Regions from separate parts of the Homo sapiens genome. Here regions 2 and 3 are each linked to region 1. The links are contacts of gene promoters, found by promoter capture Hi-C in blood cells and fetal thymus (Javierre and others, 2016). All regions are on one chromosome and are shown on one strand. The core of a region is centred on a gene start or on the middle of the fragment in contact, and the rest is flanking DNA. Distances in the headings are between cores, read along the strand shown. Region 1 holds the start of GCC2 (GRIP and coiled-coil domain containing 2). Region 2 has its middle 51 kb from the start of SLC5A7. Region 3 has its middle 39 kb from the start of EDAR.

Region 1 (3,408 bases), core at 907-3,406:
ACATTGTTATTAACATTGTTCCTATTTTCTATTTCCATAAATGATTCAAGGTGATTTTTATTTTCTTTTCGGAATTTTCCTATATTTTCCAGGTGTTCTACAATGAACCTGTGTTACTTTTACAATTGGAAAGAAACATATTCGTTAAACAGGTCATAGTTCTGCTCATTAAGGTAATATACATCTTTAAAATGTGAACTTATCTGCAGTCCAGAGAATGTGAAATATAAAGCAGATCTTTCCTATAGGTTTATGAATATCAGAAGATCTCAGAGTACTCACAATCAATTCATAAATATTCATTCTTTAAAGTATGAAAGATGATAAATATATTTAGAAGATTTCAGCACTTACTATAACTAGTGAAGGAAGAAATAAATGATTTCTTCCTTAAGAGGAACAACAACAGAAGGTATCCGATGGTCAAGAACATTATACCTGCCTCCATCATCTCAGAAAATAAAATTCCTGTCCAATGACAACCAGGAAGGCAGATGGGGGTGAGCTCGAGCTGTGTGAGGAGGCCGCTGATGACCTGGAGCTTAGGGGTGTGCTGACCCTCATCTCCCTGGGGATTCCCAGGAGACGCTGCCCTACCTGTAGCTGCAACTCATGGACCCTGTTACCCAGCCAAGTGCAATGGAGGGCTGGCGAGGGAAGAAAGATCAAAGGAAGAAAAGAAAGGTTCTTTTTTATTTCAAGTATGAGAAAAAGAGAGTTCTACTGTGAGAACATCAACTCTTCTGTAGCTATTGATGTAGCCAAACTCCTGGAATGTAACTATATCTAACAGTGTTTCTCTGAGAAACTTTTACAGGATTGGAATGTGTGTAGTATCTAGTTAACCTGCTATTTTATTGCAAGTGATTTTTTCAAGTTATTAATTGAAATAGGAGTCTACCGTAAGTTGCTCTTAACTTGGGGAACTACTTTGAATGGCATTAATCTGGACCATTAATAACAATGTATACTTGGGGATTGTGTGTGTGTGTGTGTATACATGTGTGTGCATATATGTGTGTACACACACGTGCACACACACGTGCGCGCACACGTGCACACACACACGTGCACACACACACGTGTACACACACACGTGTACACACACACGTGTGTTACTGTACGTGGAGACTGTACATCTTAGGTCACACACCACCCCTGAACCAATCCTACAAACACCATAGGTGATACACACTGTCAAAGACAAAGAGTAGATGTCCACAATAGCTGTTCTTTCTCGTTTATAACACTTCTTTTACCTAGTAATAATCAGCTACCATTTACTCGATACATACTGTGTGCTGCCTCTTCAACCTTTTGACCATTTAAACTACAGGAAACTAGGTTATCTTCAGGTTACCTTAGTTATGGGAGTGTATGGAAAACATTAATGGGAAGGTGAAAGCGCAGCAAACCACTTCAGCAGTTAACAGAAAGGCTCTCAGAGCACTGGACCGCCAATCAGGACACAGCAGCAGCTCTGGGATTCGACCACAGATTCTCTGGCGTGCCCTTCGGGAAAGGGTGGCCTCGGGCCCCCTACTCTACAGAGTCTCCTCCCACGGCTGCCCAGTTCCCTGGCCGACTATCTTGCCTCCACCACATCACCATCAGTACCGGGCGGCTGCAGGGCAGAGCTGTCCAGGGACCTCCTCACAGCCTCCAGAGTCAAGAAATGCCTCCTCAGGGAAGCCCTCTACCGCATCCCTGACCTGTGAGTCACGGAGCTCCCGGGCACCATGCTGGCCACAAATGCCTAAGGAGCCCCCCGGAACCAGCTGTGGGTCCCGCAGGCACTCGCAGGCTAGCGGACACCTTTGGAGGACTGAGAGACCTGTCCTGCAATCCAATGTTCCTCACTCTCACAAGATTTTACAGACGTGGAAACCGAGGCCCGAGGCCCCAAGGGGTAATCGGCCCGCCTTCCCATGCCAATAACCGGCAGTGGCGGGACCCACACCTACTCCGTGACCTGCAGGCCCAGGGGTCGAGCCCCAGGTAGAACGTCTAGACGGACTCCGCCCTTAGCGCCGTACGGGGAACCTTCTCCCGGACGCAGACACGGAAGCGGAAGTGCTGCCGAGCTGTAGCTATGGAGACGTGGGGGGCGGGCCGCCCGGAGAGCGCGACCTTTGACCTGCAGTAGAGCCTACGTCAGAGGCTGGCGCAAACAGAAGTGCAGCGGTGGCGGCGGCTGGTTGCGGGCCGGCGGCGGGCTGGCGGAGATGGAGGTAACTCAGGTCGGGCCCACTGCCTCCCATCAAGCCTTCCGCGCCGCGATTTGGGATGTGGGAGTGGGCCCGATGGGAGGGCGCGGTAGTCTCCCTCTTGGTGTCCCGAAGCCCGCGCTGCTGTCGCCTCCCCATCTTTCGTAAACTCTATCCCTGGGGGTTACCTGCCCCGTAGAGCCCGTTTGTGTACGAATTGCCACAGCGACCGCCTCCGTCCGCCCTCATTCTCTGTCTCACGAGGCTTTCCACCACTTGATTCCATAGAAGGTTTTTCCCTGTAAGGGTTCTACGCGTTCCGTGTGGAATTAGGAAAAGAGTTCTTCTGACACCTGGGTTTGATTTTGTTTTGCAGGATCTTGTTCAAGATGGGGTGGCTTCACCAGCTACCCCTGGGACCGGGAAATCTAAGGTGAAGAGAATACTTGAATAGCGGGCTTCCTGAAGAGTGGAAGGGTGATGAATTGGAAAACTTTGGCATGGGGAAGGGGGGGGCGCTGATTTTTTTTTTTTTAATAGCCTTGCTCCAAGGGATCTCAATTTTAGTGTGCGCAATCGCCCATTTCCTGTTTCTCCCCCGCCCACCCCGATATAGAAAGACTTTTTGTTTGCTTCCTGCTCCTGGTTAGCACTGCTGGGAGATCCTGCTATTTTTCGAACATAAAGCAGTCTAAGAAGGTTTATATAGTGGTGTAGTGGAAGGAGCAGTGACATAGGGTAGGAATCAAGGGATTCTGATCTGTGGGCTCCAGTTTCTACATTGCCAAAGAGTTTAATTAGTCCAGTTTTATGGCCCTGTACAATGTTTAACATTCAATCATTCTAAATGATAGTGGTTTATTGCTAAGGTTTATTGTGTGCATGCTAAATTTCTGGCGCTTGCCTAACCACTCAGTTCCTTCGTTTAAGCTTCATGATAACCATGAGATAGGTACTGTTGTTACCCTCCTTTTACAGATGAGAAACCTGAGACCACAGGCTTAAGCAATTTTCTCAAGTGGTAAAGCTCAATTTTTTAATTAAAGCCTGAATGTTACCCGGTTCATCTTGCTGCTGTAATTATGCGTAAATTTTCTTGTGACCAAAGACTTGCAGCCTTGAATAGAATGAAATAATTTTACAGCTCCAAGGAATTTTAAGTAGCATTAGCTCCAACCTACTGATTTTACAATTAAATCAA
Region 2 (3,599 bases), core at 363-2,862, 510 kb before region 1:
ACAGTTATCATGTGCCATGGCTTTACACATTAACTTTGTTTATAAACTGTGATAGTCTTCAAATTATTCAAGGGCATTCCGTGTTATACGTCCTGCCATACTGTCATTGAGAAACACCATGATTCTGATTTTTAGTACACTTTCACATTTACTTACGCACCATTTATCTGTCATATATATTGTACAGAGGCTTTCCTAAGCCTTCAGAAACAAATTAAAAGTGACCTTTACTACCAAGACATTCAGTCTAGCAGAGAAGTCACAAATATATTTCATTAATAGCAATACTATGTAATAAGATAGAAGATAAAAAGTAAACACAGTGGATATGAAAACACACAGAAGAGAAAACACAGGTGGAGAGGGAACAGCGGGGAAAAACACAGGGAGTTTCCCTAGATGAGGGACACATGAGCTACCCATCTGCCATAAGGTGCCCAGGAAAGACCTGAAGACATGAGTGAGACTTTATAGACTAGTCTCCAAGTCAGCCTCCAAGAATGGCAATAATTATAAGTTCAATAGTTCTGAATCTCACAGGATGCTAAGATCAGTATCTTCCATTGTTTCTGCATTCCTTTATCAAGTAAAATCTCATTGAGTGCTTACATGGAGCACTTTTTTTTTTTTAACTCTTTTAGGTCTCTTGAACACAGCAGGAAAACTGGAGAGTCAAGGTTATTACCCTCCAGGAGCTTCCAGCTGGGAGACAGGGAACAAACTAGTGGCTTACTGACCAGGGAGTTTGGCTTACAATAAGCCCTAGAAAATAGGGTGACATGTTAAAAGGTGAAAGGGACAGGGTGAGGGGAGCATGCAGAAGCTGGTCACAGACAGCTTCTTTGAGGCACTGATACGTGAGTTCAGAACTGAACATGAAGAAGGAGCAGGCAAGTAAAAAGTTGAGGTGGGACGGGAGGCATCCCCTGCAAAAGGTATGGCCAGGACAAGCACTGAGCCTGAAGGAGAGAAGGAAGGTCAGTGGGTGGAATGCATGGATTGTGGGGAGGTGCATCAGGAGAGATTGGAAAAGTAAGCAGGGCCAGAGGGGGATAAGGAGTTTGGGGTGTATTTTAAGTGCAGTGGAAGTGATTGAAGGAAGTTAATAAGTAGGAGACGACAAAGCCTGATTTACCTCTGAAGACAGCCACACTGGCTGGTGATAAGTGGAGAATGGACAGTCGGAGGAGAGGGCAAGAGTGAAAGCAGAGACCGGATCTGAGGCCGCTCGGGAGCTCCGGCTAAAGACAATGGTGGCTTAGACTAGAGAGATGACAGAGATGGAGAAAGTGAGGTCACAGAAGAGCAATATGGTGCAGATATGAGAGACAGAATGATTTTCAGTTGATTCCTGGGTATTTGGGAGATAACCTGGAGGGATAGTGGTATCTTTTACTGACCTTTGGTATTTTTTTTGAAAATTGATTCAAAAGGGATGATTAGAGAGTTAAAGTTTGACAGGAGGAAGGTGGGCAGCTTCTTATAGGCCAATGTGGTAACACAAGGAAATGTGTCTGTACAGGACCGGAGAGAGACCAGCAAATTCACAAAATTCTATGGGACCCACCCTCTGACAGCACTGTTTGTTCCCAGAGCATGGGATGGGCCTCCTTCTGCTCTCCCTGAGTCTGAGCTTGCGGTCTTCTTGGTGGCTTATGAAGGGAACACGCTGCTCCACCTGTTTCTAAGTGGGGCTGAGCAAAGGGGAAACAGTTCTTTAAAAGAGAGGGCTGGCCGGGCGCGGTGTGTCATGCTTGTAATCCCAGCACTTTGGGAGGCCAAGGCGGGCTGATCACGAGGTCCAGGAGATCGAGACCATCCTGGCTAACATGGTGAAATCCCATCTCTACTAAAAGAAAAAAAAAAAGAAAATTAGCTGAGCGTGGTGGTGCGTGCCTGTCATCCCAGCTACTCGGGAGGCTGAGGCAGGAGAATCTCTTGAACCCGAGATGCAGAGGTTTCGGTGAGTCGAGATCGCACCACTGCACTCCAGCCTGGTGACAGAGCGAGACTCCGTCCAAAAAAAAAAAAGTTGGGGGGGAGCTTACGCTTTTCATTAAATGTATACTTAAAATTTTAAAAATAGAAAACGATGGGCCAGGTGCGGTGGCTCATGCCCGTAATCCCAGCACTTTTGGAGGCCGAGGCGGGAGGATCATGAGGTCAGGAGATCCAGACCACGGTGAAACCCCGTCTCTATTAAAAATACAAAAAATTAGCCAGGCGTGGTGGCAGGCGCCTGTAGTCCCAGATACTCGGGAAGCTGAGGCAGGAAGATTGGCGTGAACCCGGGAGGTGGAGCTTGCGGTGAGCCGAGATCGCACCACTGCACTCCAGCCTGGGCGACAGAGCGAGACTCCGTCTCAAAAAAATAAATAAATAAATAAATAAAATAAAATAAAAAACTATGGATTTACAATCTTTTAAAACCTAGAGATCTGCTAGGCCTTCTAACTCATTTTTTTATAAATGAGAAAATACAGACCAAGAGACAATAAGTGATTTGCTAAATTCATACTGTGTTGCTGTTACTAAGAGAGCTTGTGGCCTTATCTGACAGTTGATGCTGAAGTATTTTCTTCATACCTCTGAGTCTCTCAAGTCAATTTCAAGTAGTGCTCAAGACTTTGCTAATCTACAAAGCCAGATCACATGATTTGAGACAGAATGGGAAAAACCTTCTTTTCCTTTATACACCCAACGATGCCAACCTGGGGTAGTTGTTTGTGATGGCCTTGCTTTCATTAAAAATAGACTATACAAAAGCTAAGCAATAAAATTTAAAATAAATATAATAAAATTATGTCAAGATTTAAACTTATCTTCACATAATTAAGTGGAACCACCCAGGACCTTTGATTTAGTAAACAGTAGTAAAATATTTTATCTTTCCCAAATCTTAACCTGTTTTCATTAATTATGTGGGTTCACCAGCAGAGGGCGACGTGATACCTTTTTTCTTTTTTGCCCCCTCCCCCAACAAACAATTTAAAACAAGTGGCTAGAAAATCAGAATCCCCTTGATTACATCCTATTGATAATTCACTATTCATAGGAGCAATTAGGGATTCTCTTAATGTCAGCAGAGTATACTTGTTCATTCTTTGGGGTAAGGATATGAGACTGGGTGATCTGGAGGACTTGCTGAGAGCTGGTAGGAATTTGAAGCTGTTTCCATGAATGTTTCTGCTGTGTGAGTTAACGAACTCGAGCTAGCATGGCAAGGTCATGTTATTTAATGTGAAAATTCTTACAAATAATGTTTCACAATTAACATTAAAAAGCTTGTTTTTGAAAAGGATCTGATTTTTGTTTCACAGACTAAAACTGGGAGTTTCATCTTCAATCAAGCTGGAAGACCCAAGACTATTATTTTGTTTGATATTTGGTCAAAGCAAATTAGTTAAATAAATTTTATCTGCTTCCAGCCTACGTTTAATTGGTAAATTTGAACTTTTTGAATGCAGTGTGTATTCGTATTGTCTCTTTGAAGAGTAAACTATTGTAAATCTGTAAGTGATCTTACTTCCTGAACTCTATTTTGTTTCTCAAGGCATTTAATGGTGATTAACAACTTCATATGTCTAATTTATTTTATT
Region 3 (3,315 bases), core at 647-3,146, 580 kb after region 1:
TTTAAGAGATGGGGTCTTGCTATGTTGCTCAGGCTGGTCCTGAACTCCTAGGCTCAAGCGATCTTCCTGCTTCTGCCTCCCAAAGTGCTGGGACAATAGATAAGAGCCATCACACCTGGACAGCGCATTATTTTAATGGCCACCGTTTTTGCTTTTAGAAGAGTGTGTCTGAGGTATTGCCTGTCCCTTGGGCCCCTCTTCCCTCTGAAGCAAGGGGACCAAAGGCTGGCTATGCAGTCATGAGCTCCCAGCTCTAAGGTGAGGAAGCACCGTTAGTGTAGGATACACTGGATATGTCATGTATTCAAGTGGGGAAAGCAGCAGCCCAGACTGTGCCCCTCACATCCTGATTGCTCGGCACCCTCTAGGTGGGGAAAAAGCTCAAAATGATCTTTTAGAAACAGCTGCTCCTCTCAGTCTTATTTCCACACTTGCCAATTCAGAGCTGCCAAATACTTCTTAAAAATCATTAGAAGTGGCCGGGTGCAGTGGCTCACGCCTGTAATCCCAGCACTTTGGGAGGCCAAGGTGGTGGATCACGAGGTCACCATTCTGGCTAATGTGGTGAAACCCCGTCTCTACTAAAAATACAAAAAATTAGCCAGGCATGGTGGTGGGCGTCTCAAAAAATAAAAAAGAACCTCTGAAGACATTGGCCGGGTGTGGTGGCTCACACCTGTAATTGCAGCACTCTGGGAGGCCAAAGTGGGCAGATCACTTGAGGTCAGGATTTTAAAACCAGCTTGGTGCGTGGTGAAATCCCATCTCTACTAGAAATACAAAAATTAGTTGAGCGTGGTGGTTCGCACCTGTAATAGCAGCTACTTGGGAGGCTGAGGCAGGAGAATCACTAGAATCCTGGAGGCGGAGGTTGCAGTGAGCCAAGATTTGCACCACTGCACTCCAGCCTGGGCAACAGAGTGAGGCTCTGTCTCAAAAAAAAAAAAAAAAAAAAAACAAGGACCTCTGAAGACTTCTTGAAGGAGGGTGGGTCTCCTGGGGGACTAGCCTCATCTTGGAGGCATTGCAGAGGTCTCCTGGGCCCAGCCAGACCCCAGACATCTTGTTCCTTTGTGGAGTCTTCAAGGGAAGAGCTTTTGAAGCCATAAGGAAAGACTGGATTTTGAAGACAAAAGTAACTTTCCTCTTTTGAAGGCAGCATGGAGCCAAGGAAGCCTGTGGAGCCTGACATGAAGGCACAGGCTCTGAGCCTGGCATGTCCATCCACCCTCTGTTTATGATACCCTGGGCAGGGCCTAAGCCCTCCTGGGCCTCAGCTCCCCTCCTGTAAGTGGTGACAGACCTCACAGGGTTATTGGGCACTGACGTGGACAAAGTATCTGGAAGGAAGCAGTGCTGCGTAAGCGTCGTTATGACTATGGGGACTCAGCAGGACCTAGGCCAGGAGCAAGACCTAGAGTTGATGAGGGCCTGGGCTCCAGGAGTGGGCGGGGTGGGTGGGCGGCAGCTCTGCAGCCTGGCATGCTGGCCTCCCCGCCATGCGTCTTCCTTCTCCCTGCAGGCTCTGAGTCCCTGCCAGTCCCCTACTTCTGTCTCTCCCAGAGCTGCTACTCACAGATCCATCCTCAGAGGGAGCACTGGGCTCTGCCAGTTAATGCATGTGTCCTGCTGAGGCAGGGAAGAGCTCAAGGCTTTCCTGGTACTGTTTAAAAACATACTGGCAGGGTGAGGTGGCTCACGCCTGTAATTCCAGCACACTGGGGGGCCAAGACAGGCAGACATCTTGAGCCCAGGAGTTTGAGACCAACCTGGGCAACATGGTGAAACCCTGTCTCTACAAAAAATGCAAAAAATTACCTGGGCCAGGTGACATACACCTGTAGTCTCCACTACTCAGGAGGCTGAGGTGGGTGGATCACCTGAACCCAGGACGTTGAGGCTGCAGTGAGCCATGATCATGCCACTGCACTCCACTCTGGGTGACAGAGTGAGACCCTGTCTCAAAAGAAATAAATAAAATAAAAACATATTGTTCGATTTTAAATGCTAAACCATAATTGACACCTGAGCCTCAGGGCTAATGGAAAGTACAAAGTGCATGCTGGGCCACGGCCCTTACCTCCACTGAAGGAAGAGCCTTACACCAAGAAGGTAGGCCCTGCTGCTGCACCCTGGCTTCCCCGTTGCTGGGAGGCCTGTCTCCACACGCCACCCTCAGGCCCTCCTGCACAGTGGCTCATGGTGGCTGACACACTGTATTTGAGGGTGACAGTCCTTGCATCAACATCTGGACAGTGCTGAATGCTGTTTCAATCTCCTCTGCTGTGCCCTAAGCATCCGATCCCAACAGCCCTCACTTAGAGGAGTGCTCTGACCTATTCCACAGGCCCTCCGAGGGTGGCAGACATGCACCCAAATGAGTAGCTTAAGTCAGTAGGCCCGGTTCTTGCCCTTCCCCCACACATATCTTGCCCCTCCTACACCTTGACCCTGGACCTAAAGCAGCAGAACAGAGCTTAGAGGTCATCGGGTCTAAGCCCCACTCCTGTCTTCCAGAGCAGCCTCACACTCTCAGGATCTGTGTGGCTGTCAGGGACTGTGAGGGCCAACTGAGAATGCATGTGTGAATCTGGCTGTCACGACTTTAGTTGTGATTGTTTATTTATTTATTTGTTTGTTTATTTATTTATTTATTTAGTAGAGACAGGATTTTGCCATATTGCCCAGGCTGGTCTCAAACTCCTGGGCTCAAGCAATCTTCCCACCTCAGCCTCCTAAAGTGCTGGGATTACAGGCGTGAGGCACTGTGCCCGGCCTATGTGATTGTTTATTTCTTTAGCCCTCACCTCATTCTAAACTACAAAAATAAATAAAATAAATAAATAAATAAATAAGGTTTAAGGCAAGATTATTGTTATTACTGTTAATAGGACACCTGGGCCCTTTCCTCCTTCATGTCAACACTGAGTCTATGGAGTCCCTCCCCATCCCAGCCCCCATTCACCCCCATGGCCGCAGCTGCTGGGTTCTGCCTTGGCCACTCCTCCAAGTTCCTTCCATAAAGCTAGTAAAGCATCCAGGAGAGGGATGATGAGGGACCATGTGTAAATGGGAGAAACTTCATTAGGGTAAGGAAGGCATGGGAATCTGGAGGTGGGAAACCATGATGTGGCTGACACTGATGCCTGAAGTTATTGAAGGGTGCCTCAGCCCTCCTGGGAAGCAGCAGCTCAGTGTGTGTCTGTCCGTTTCCAAGGGAAAACCTGGTCCTCTCAATGAGGGGAAAGAGGAGATTCTGCAGCATGTGTGTCCCTGCCGGGCAAACTTTACAGCATCAGGCTCCAAAAGTAGAGC

The links. Contacts are between HindIII fragments. The CHiCAGO score rates a contact against its expected background, and 5 or more counts as called.
Region 2: a contact is called between a fragment that was not itself captured here and the fragment with the promoter of GCC2 in region 1, in 1 of 17 cell types (M0 macrophages). The highest score is 5.2, in M0 macrophages.
Region 3: a fragment that was not itself captured here is called in contact with the fragment with the promoter of GCC2 in region 1 in 1 of 17 cell types (fetal thymus); the score reaches 5.0 in fetal thymus.

The regions. Positions count from the first base shown.
Region 1 is chr2:108,447,050-108,450,457 of GRCh38, forward strand. GCC2 (GRIP and coiled-coil domain containing 2) reads left to right here and starts at 2,157. Exons shown (of 23, transcript NM_181453.4): 1 at 2,157-2,231; 2 at 2,584-2,640. The coding sequence starts at 2,226. RefSeq lists enhancers at 1,097-2,079, 1,984-2,243, 2,080-3,061, 3,147-3,408. The HindIII fragment of the contact is 5,578 bases long and covers 1-3,135 here.
Region 2 is chr2:107,934,034-107,937,632 of GRCh38, forward strand. No RefSeq gene overlaps it. Among named protein-coding and RNA genes, the nearest start is that of SLC5A7, 51 kb to the right of the region's middle. The HindIII fragment of the contact is 3,340 bases long and covers 1-3,282 here.
Region 3 is chr2:109,026,308-109,029,622 of GRCh38, forward strand. It overlaps a transcript of RANBP2 not described here. Among named protein-coding and RNA genes, the nearest start is that of EDAR, 39 kb to the left of the region's middle. The HindIII fragment of the contact is 7,284 bases long and covers 1-3,315 here.